2 separate regions of the Homo sapiens genome follow, and region 1 is linked to region 2. Evidence: promoter capture Hi-C in 16 types of primary human blood cells and fetal thymus (Javierre and others, 2016). All regions are on one chromosome and are shown on one strand. Each heading gives the region's core, a stretch centred on a gene start or on the middle of the fragment in contact. The rest is flanking DNA. Distances are from core to core; before and after follow the strand shown. Region 1 holds the start of GALK1 (galactokinase 1). Region 2 holds the start of LLGL2 (LLGL scribble cell polarity complex component 2).

Region 1 (4,322 bases), core at 412-2,911, 240 kb after region 2:
CCTAGCAGCTGTTTCTAGGGTGTGTGTCTCAATTGTCAGAAGCCACCAACCTGCTGGGCCAAGGGACCCACTGCCCTCCATTTTCCCACCCTCTGAGGTTGCTGGGACACTTCTAATTGTCCTCCTGGTTTAGGGCTCTGGAGGGAAAAAAGGCTGGGGTTCAAATCCTGGCTCCTCCAATCAGGTCACGGGAAACCCAGGGCAAGTTCCCGACCTTCTGGGGGCATCAGTTTCCTCATCTGTACAATGGGATGCTCCACTCTACAAGCCTTCCCCACAGTGTATCAGACAAATGAATGGGCTCTGTGGCTGTGAGGTGGCACTCCTAGTATCAGTGAGGACTTGGCTCAGGCCTGGGCCCCATACCTGGGTAGTACTGAATCACTCCCTTGACATAGTTGGCCCACCGAGGAGTCCCAGGCTCCAGCGAGCGCTGGGCTGTGGGCAGTGGAAACTGCAGCCGCTGGGGCTCATCGGCACCCTCAGAGGTGGTGAGGAGAGACACCAGCCCATCCTTGCGGGGGCTGCCCACCAGCACCGTCATGAGCTCCAGAGCCTGGCAGGAGAGACAAGCAGTACGTGAGGCTTCCGCCAGCTGGAGTAAGCCTCTCCAATGACACTGCCTCCAGCCGAGGTTCTGATGCCTCCACAGTCATCAGGTTCTGAACCTCCAGGTTCAGCGTCGCAGGGAAGATCCTGAGGGCCAGCTGACCTTGGGGGCTTGAGCCCTGCCCCCTTAGGTCTTCAGGGGCGGGGCGGCTGCAGCTGGAGCACAGACCTGGACTCTGCCCTGAGCTGTGGGGCAAGGGGGAGAGCTAGCCCAAAGGGAAAACAGATCACTGGAGCTCCAAAGCCTTTACATTTTGGGGTGGCTCTGGACATCCTGTACCTGTGCACTCCCCAAGCTGCAGATGGGGCGGAAAGCGCCCCCCGCTGAAAGCTGGGAGTCCTCACTCCCAAGTCGCAGCCCCGCCAAGAACCTGCTGTGTGACCTCCAGCAGTTCACTGGGCCTCTCTAGGCCTCAGTTTCCTCCTCTGTAAATTGAACGGGCTGGGCCAGAAGGCTACGTTCGCCCAGGTCTGCGGTTGGGGCCCCACGGTGGCCGGAGGCGCGGAGTGTCCCCTTCTGCGTGGCACACAGGGCCTCACAGTTTAAGGGGAACATGCTCCCAGGTTGAAGGCGAGGAGCCCCAGCCCCCAGAGGGCGGGCTTGAGCCAAGAGGCGGCCGCGCACCCTCTCCCGGCCACTTCCTCGCTTCCTCCCTTCCAACGTGGGGAACAGCCTGTCCCGGGGACTCTTCCGTGCACCGGTGCTCCAGGCGCAGCTGCCCGCCCCACATCTCCCGCGGGAAGAACTCGCCCCCAGCGTCCCCGAGGCCCGCCCTCCTCGGCGGCCGGGACAGGCGGCGGCGGGCTAGGGGCTCCCCGTGCAGCCCCTCACCATAGGCAGCACCAGGCCCTGGTTGTAGTCCGTGTGTTCCCCGATGAGGTTGACGCGGCCCGGCGCTGACACGGCCAGCTCGGGCTCGGCCCCGAACTCCTCCCGGAAGGCTCGCCGGGCCTCGGCCAGCAGCTCCGCGACCTGGGGCTGTCTCAAAGCAGCCATGACGCGCGCCTGCAGCTCTGCACAGCTGCTCCGGCACAGCCCCGTCGGCGCGGGATGCTCGGGCGGGGCCCCGCGCGGGGGTGCGCACATTCCCGCCAGCCCCGCCCCGCGCCCGGACGCCCCGCCCCCAGACCTCAGCCGGTTCCGCCCCCACCCGCAACTCCCGTGGGAATCCAGCTGCTGGGTGGTGGGTGGCAGGGGCTAATGGTGCCGGGTGGGATACAGCGCCCCCGATGGTGTCCTTCCCTCTGGACTTCGGGAAGAACCAATGAGCACTCACTAGAGTGAGAATAGCCCTGAGTGGCACTTGGCATGACCAGGATTTCTGAGCTGCCCTTCCCTGGCGCTGGTGACTTTCTATGTGCCTCACCACCCACCACCACCCACACAGCCAGAGCAATGGAGCTGGCACCCGGTTGACCTGGGATTCCCAAAGGGATCCCCTAGGTCCCCAGGGCCAGCAGCTGTGAGAGGTCATCAGCCTCTGATCACCGGTCTCCAAGAGGGTGACCTGACACTCACTGTAAGTAGAGATAAAGACAGACAAGTTTGGGCCGGGCGCAGTGGCTCACGCCTGTAATCCCAGCACTTTGGGAGGCCGAGGTGTGCAGATCACCTGAGGTCGGGAGTTGGAGACCAGCCTGACCAACATGGAGAAACCCCATCTCTACTAAAAAATACAAAATTAGCTGGGCATGGTGGCTCATGCCTGTAATCCCAGCTACTCGGGAGGCTGAGGCAGGAGAATCACTTGAACCTGGGAGGCGGAGGTTTCGGTGAGCTGAGATCACACCATTGCACTCCAGCCTGGGCAACAAGAGCAAAACTCTGTCTCAAAAAAAAAAAAGACAAGTTTGGTGGTGACCAGAGAGTCAATTTTACAAGCTCCTTTTCTAGGTAATACGCAACAGCTCCTAGCAATGGAGAATTGGACTAGGGTGGCGGTGGCCAGCAGTGGGCCCAGCCCCTCCCTTAAGGACCTGCCACAGCTGTCCAGGTAGGTTGTGCTGTTGGCCCCAGCAGGCACTACTTCAGCCCAGAAGCCCTTGTCTCAGAGGCGTGGCCTTGTTCCCAGTCAGGCACTCTTCTCTTGCTATCCTGCATCCTAAACCTGCTGGCCGGCCCCAACTGCTGCCTTGATACCTGTCCACAGCTGCCCACCCTACATGGAACCTTGAAACTGAAAGACTGAAATGTAAGCAGCTTGCTTGGGGTTAGGGTGGGAGTAGTGTGGGGAGTTATGGCCAGGGATTTAGCTTGGGGCCTGCTCAGGGGTGTGCCCAAAGAGTGGGGAACTGCATTCCAAGGGCAATTCTGAAAACTCTTAGAAGAAAACATAGGGGTACAGTTTTGTGACATTGGTTAGGAAATGTTTATTTGGTTTCTGTTTTTGAGACGGAGTTTCGCTCTCGTTGTCCAAGCTGGAGTGCAATGGCGTGATCTCAGCTTACTGCAACCTCTGCCTCCCGGGTTCAAGCGATTCTCCTGCCTCAGCCTCCGGAGTAGCTGGGATTACAGGCACGTGCCACCATGCCCGGCTAATTTTTTGTATTTTTAGTGGAGACTGGGGTTTCACCAGGTTAGCCAGGCTGGTCTCAAACTCCTGACCTCAGGTGATCCACCCACCTTGGCCTCCCAAAGTGCTGGGATTACAGGCGTTAGCCACCACACCTAGTCATGTTTTTTTATTTTTATTTATTTACGTATTTATTTATTTTAGACAGATCTTGCTCTGTTACCCAGGCTGGAGTGCAGTGGCGCGATCTTGGCTCACTGCAACCTCCGCCTCCCAGGTTCAAGCGATTCTCCTGCCTCAGCCTCCCCAGTAACTGGGATTACAGGCACCCTCCACCATGCCTGGATAATTTTTGTAAAAGCAGGGTTTCACCATGTTGGCCAGGCTGCTCTTGAACTCCTGACCTCAAGTGATTTGCCTGCCTCAGCCTCCCAAAGTGCTGGGATACAGGTGTGAGCCAATGCGGCCAGGCAATGGTTTTTTAGATATGACATCAAAAGCACAAGTGACAACAGAAAAATAAACTGTACTTCATCAAAGTGAAATATTTTTCTGCAACAAAGAACTGTCACGCGTGTCCGTGTGAACAGACCACCAAACAGGCTTTGTGTGAGCAACAAGGCTGTTTATTTCACCTGGGTGCAGGCGGGCTGAGTCTGAAAAGAGTAAGCAAAGGGTGGTGGGATTATCATTAGTTCTTATAGGTTTTGGGATAGGTGGTGGAGTTAGGAGCAATGTTTTGCGGGCAGGGATGGATCTCACAAAGTACATTCTCAAGGGTGGGGAGAATTACAAAGAACCTTCTTAAGGGTGGGGGAGATTACAAAGTACATTGATCAGTTAGGTTGGGGCAGGAACAAATCACAGTGGTGGAATGTCATCAGTTAAGGCTATTTTCACTTCTTTTGTGGATATTCAGTTGCTTCAGGCCATCTGGATGTATACGTGCAGGTCACGGGGGCTATGATGGCTTAGCTTGGGCTCAGAGGCCTGACAAGAACATTGTCAAGAAAGTGAAAAGACAACTCACAGAATGGAAGAAAGTACTTGCAAATCATGTATATCTCAGGGGCTTGGAGTTTGAGACCAACTTGGGCAACGTGGGAAGACCTCACTGCTACAAAAAAAAAAAAAAAAATTAGCCAGGTTGGGTGGCACACACCTGTGGTCCCAGCTACTCAGAAGGTGAGAGACCCTGTG
Region 2 (4,115 bases), core at 898-3,397:
AAGTGGCACCTCTGTGAGGCTGCTTCCTGGAACTGGTGGAGGGAAAGGGTGGGATGGAAAAGAAAGGTTGGGGAGAAGAGTTCATGTCATAACGTTTCTCATTGTATTGTCAGGCTGTTGGAGAAGTCTGGGGGCTTGGAAATCATCTTTGATGTTTACCAGGCCGACGCTGTGGCCACATTCCGAAAGAATAACCCTGGCAAACCCTATGCCCGGATGTGCATTAGTGGGTACGCAGTGAGCCAGCACTGCCCCTCCCCCAGCTGCTGCCAGTTCTCCTGTGAACCAAGTGGGACTCCTCTGTACTCCCCTGGCCAGCGTGCCAATCTCTGAGAGGAACAGGAGGTCCAGAGAGGCTAAGTGACCTACACAAGGCCACACAGCCAGTTTGTGCTGCCCTACTCTGAGCTCCTCGTTGCTGGCATTTTAGGGTAGTCTTTCTCCAATGCCATTTTAGTCTAGGACTCACCCAGCAGAAGGGATGTGGATTGTGGGGATTTACAGGCTAAGAGTGGTGAGCACCTTGCTCTTCCTAGCACCTCCCCAACCAGTGCTCTGGGGCGCTCTTCATCAGAGCCCTGTGTTTTGGAGACAGAACTCATGGGTCAGAATTCTTGCACCCCAACTCCTTCCGTAGAATCTCTTCTCTGGGAGCCCTAGAGCTTAGGAGTGGGCTATGGCTGGGTCTCACTCTAACCCTTTGTCCCTGCAGATTTGATGAGCCTGTCCCAGACCTCTGCAGCCTCAAGCGGTTGTCTTACCAGAGTGGGGATGTCCCTCTGATCTTTGCCCTGGTGGATCATGGTGACATCTCCTTCTACAGCTTCAGGGACTTCACGTTGCCCCAGGATGTGGGGCACTGACCTCACAGCTCTGCAGAGGATGGAGCTTGCTCCGGGGGACCGGGACTGTCTGTTCTCAGGGACCATCTCGGCTGCCTCCTGTACCCAGACTCTAACCTGTAGCTTCAGAGGCCAGTCTGGGCCTTGGCCCTGGGTGTCTGATACTCACAGAGTGAAACTGTGACCCTCTCCCTTCCCTGCTGCCTTGCAGTGACCCCTCTGGAACTCAGGACTCGATTTTAAGGACCCAGGAGGTGGGGCAGAAGAGAGGACTGTGTGCCTTTAACGAGAGGGTGCCTGCTTCGTGCTATAAAGCCAAAGCCATTAAAAATAGATTTCTTTTCTGCTGTTTCTGTATGTACTGGGTAAACCCCTCTCGCCCCCGTCCCGTTGTCAGTGGAACTGCCCCCAGCCCCTCACCCCTGCTTTGCCCACTCAAGGAGATCCGCTTCCTCTGGTGCGGGATCTAAGAGTGAGAGAAGCCCGCGGGATAGCAGGAACGCGACCTCGAACCTTTTGAGCCTTTCCCGGGCCTGCGTCGGAGGGGATGGGACGTCGCAGGCTTCCCGAAGGGAGGAGGGAGGACGGCGCGCCATCGGCCCTTCCCTGGGCGCAGCGGGGTGCGGGTGGCGAGAGGCGCCACCTGCAGCTGGGCGGTGGAGCGCGCTGCAGCCCCGGCCTCCGCGCCCTTTCCGCTCCCGCCTCTCGTCGCTCCAACCTCCTCCCTCGCTTGTGCTAAAAATTCCACCCGCTGTTGCAGACCCTCCGGCCGACACGGAGGAGGTGGGCGCCCCCCCGCACCCCCCCCCGAGGAAAGGCGTCTCGCCGCGACGCCCCGGTCCCTACACCATCCCTCTCGTGGGGCTGGAAACCCGGCCCTGCGTCCCCCGGTCACCCTCTCTGGGCTGGGCTCTGGCAGAGGAGCTGGCCCGGATCCGCCCCTCCCTCGGCAGCTCCCGGGAGTTGGAGGGACGGCTCCCCTGGAGTCTGGGAGGCGGCCCGGGACCGCAGGCGTTCCGGGAACTATTTCCGCTTGCGGGAGGCGGCGGGACACTGGGCGCGGCGCGCCGTTCTGCGTCCAGGTGCGCGCAGGTGAGGCCGGGGCGGGCCTGCGGAACCCCGAGGCCGTTCGCGAGGCCCCGCCCCGCGCTTCCCGGGGCCGCGGATTGGCAGGAGCGCAGCCCCCACCCCCGAGGGTGCCCCCGCCCCTGCGGCGCCGAGCTGGGGGGCGGGCCGGGGGCGGGGCGCTGGGCCCCGGCAGGCTCGCCCTTTATGTAAATAGCGCGGCTCCGCCCCAGGCTCGCCGCGCCGGAGGTGAGCAGGAAGGAGACGGCCGCCCAGCAGCCCGTGGGCAGGCGCGGCGGAGCGAGCGGGGCCGGCGGCGGGCGCCGAGGGACGCCGAGGCCTCGGGCGGGGGCTGGCCCGGGGTTCCAGGTGAGATGCGTGCCGGACTCGCCCAGCCGGGCCCGCCCCCTCGGGGCTTCCACCTGGGGCGGGGAGGCCAGGGAGGCCCAGGACCCCTGGGCTGTCGGGCCAGGGCGGGAGGGCTGCGCCCAGGTCCGCGCGCCTCGCCCCTGTCCGCGTCGCTGTGCTGGCCTGGAAGAGAGACACCTGTAGAAAGTTCTGCGGGAAACTTCTCTGCCTGATCTGCGCGATGACTGAAACTTGGGCTTGGGTTTGCACAATAATGTTGGCTTAGGAGAGCAGGAGAACAGGTGCCCCGGCCGGCTGGGTGCGGGGGGCACCGCGGGCAGAGACGGAGTCCCCGGGCCCACGTGCAGGCGCCAGGCCAGCGGGGTTGGCGACGCGCGTCTGCGGTGACCCCCTCCCCACGGGCGGCGGCCGGAGCGCGGTGCCCCGGCGGCTTAGCCCCTGCCCCTGCCATCTGGGCTGTGTCCCTGCCGGCCCTTTGTGCCTCCTAATCCCCGGACGCAGGAAGCCCGCGGGAGGGACTTCGGTCTCCGGCCTTTCTCCAGCTGGGGCGGCTTTGGACACCTTCACATGACAGTGCGGAGACCCAGTCTGCCCTCCATGCTGACGGGCGGGGTTTGCGCTGTGGGATTTGGCGAGAAGTGGAAAATTCTATCTTGCCAAAGAAAGTGTGTCTTAGTTTGTTCCGGCTGGACGATTGGTGGACACGCTGGGCCTTGGCTGTGGGGAGAACTGACCTAACCAGGGGAGCTGTAGAGTGGCGCTTTGAGGCTCTCACCTGAACAGGTGAGCTTTGAGTGAGGAGGGCGCCCCTTCCCCTGGGGATCCGTATGCGACTGCCGGCAGCCTTAACCTGGGCTCCAGGGACCCCCTGCTGGAGTTTGTAGTTCAAGAGAACCTTGAGTTCTCTTGAAGGGGCTACAGAGAGGATTCTGAGCAGGGAGCGGGCAGGGAGGGAATGGGTGTGTCAAGGTGACAAGGAAACGCTGGTAGGAAGAGCAGAGCTGCCACAGAAGAGCTGTGGCCCAGCCCGGGGGAAGCCAAGGTCAGAAGTGGCAGTTGAGGCTGGGTGCATTGGCTCACAGCTGTAATCCCAGCACTTTGGGAAGCCAAGGCAGGAGGATCGCCTGAGCCCAGGAGTTTGAGACCAGCCTGGGCAACATAGTGAGACCTCGTCTCTGCAAATAATAAAAAAAGTTAGCCAGGCATGGTGGCGTGCACCTGTAGTCCCAGCTACTCAGGAGCCTGAGGTGGGAGGATTGCCTGAGCCCAGGAGGTGGAGGTTGCAGTGAGTCATGATGGCGCCACCACACTCCAGCCTGGGGACAGAGTGAGACCCTGTCTCAAAAAAAAAAAAAAAAAGTGGCATTTGAGGAAAACTGTCTGGGTCTGTGTGAGCAGAGGCACAAGGAGAACTGTGCGAGAGATGTCTCAGCTTTATTTTATGAACTGGGATTTGGGGTTTAGTTTTCTTAGGCGATCTTCCCACAGTGCTAGCTGTGGCAGACAGAACTCAAACTCAGCTCTTAAGCTTCTAATCAGAGTTCACTCCTTTCCTCTGAAGTTAGACTGGGCCCATCTTTGTGGGGGCTCCTGGACAGGGTTTCCGGGGTCCAGGGTCATTTGGCATCCCCATTCTTCCTTGAGGCAAGGGAGTTTCCCCTTTGGTGTCAGATTAATATGCTTTTAATTATATTAAAATGACACTACATTCATAAATAAGAAATAAAATAGAAAAAAGTAACTTTTTTCTCTTTTTTTTTCTTTTTTTTAAACTAAGTTGACCAAATTCTTTTTTTCTTTAATAATATGTTTTTTAATTTGTAGAGATGGGATCTCACC

Evidence for each region. Contacts are between HindIII fragments. The CHiCAGO score rates a contact against its expected background, and 5 or more counts as called.
Region 1: the fragment with the promoter of GALK1 here is called in contact with the fragment with the promoter of LLGL2 in region 2 in 1 of 17 cell types (endothelial precursors); the score reaches 5.2 in endothelial precursors.

The regions. Positions count from the first base shown.
Region 1 is chr17:75,763,531-75,767,852 of GRCh38, forward strand. It overlaps GALK1 (galactokinase 1), which reads right to left and starts at 1,662. Exons shown (of 8, transcript NM_000154.2): 1 at 1,442-1,662; 2 at 367-556. The coding sequence starts at 1,606. RefSeq lists enhancers at 677-886, 917-1,146 and silencers at 1,257-1,406, 1,637-1,826. The HindIII fragment of the contact is 22,999 bases long and covers 1-4,322 here.
Region 2 is chr17:75,523,550-75,527,664 of GRCh38, forward strand. LLGL2 (LLGL scribble cell polarity complex component 2) reads left to right here and starts at 2,148. Exons shown (of 26, transcript NM_001031803.2): 1 at 2,148-2,276. It overlaps TSEN54 (tRNA splicing endonuclease subunit 54), which reads left to right. Exons shown (of 11, transcript NM_207346.3): 10 at 114-230; 11 at 713-1,186. The coding sequence ends at 863. RefSeq lists silencers at 1,514-1,613, 1,634-2,353, 1,670-1,854. The HindIII fragment of the contact is 9,748 bases long and covers 1-3,802 here.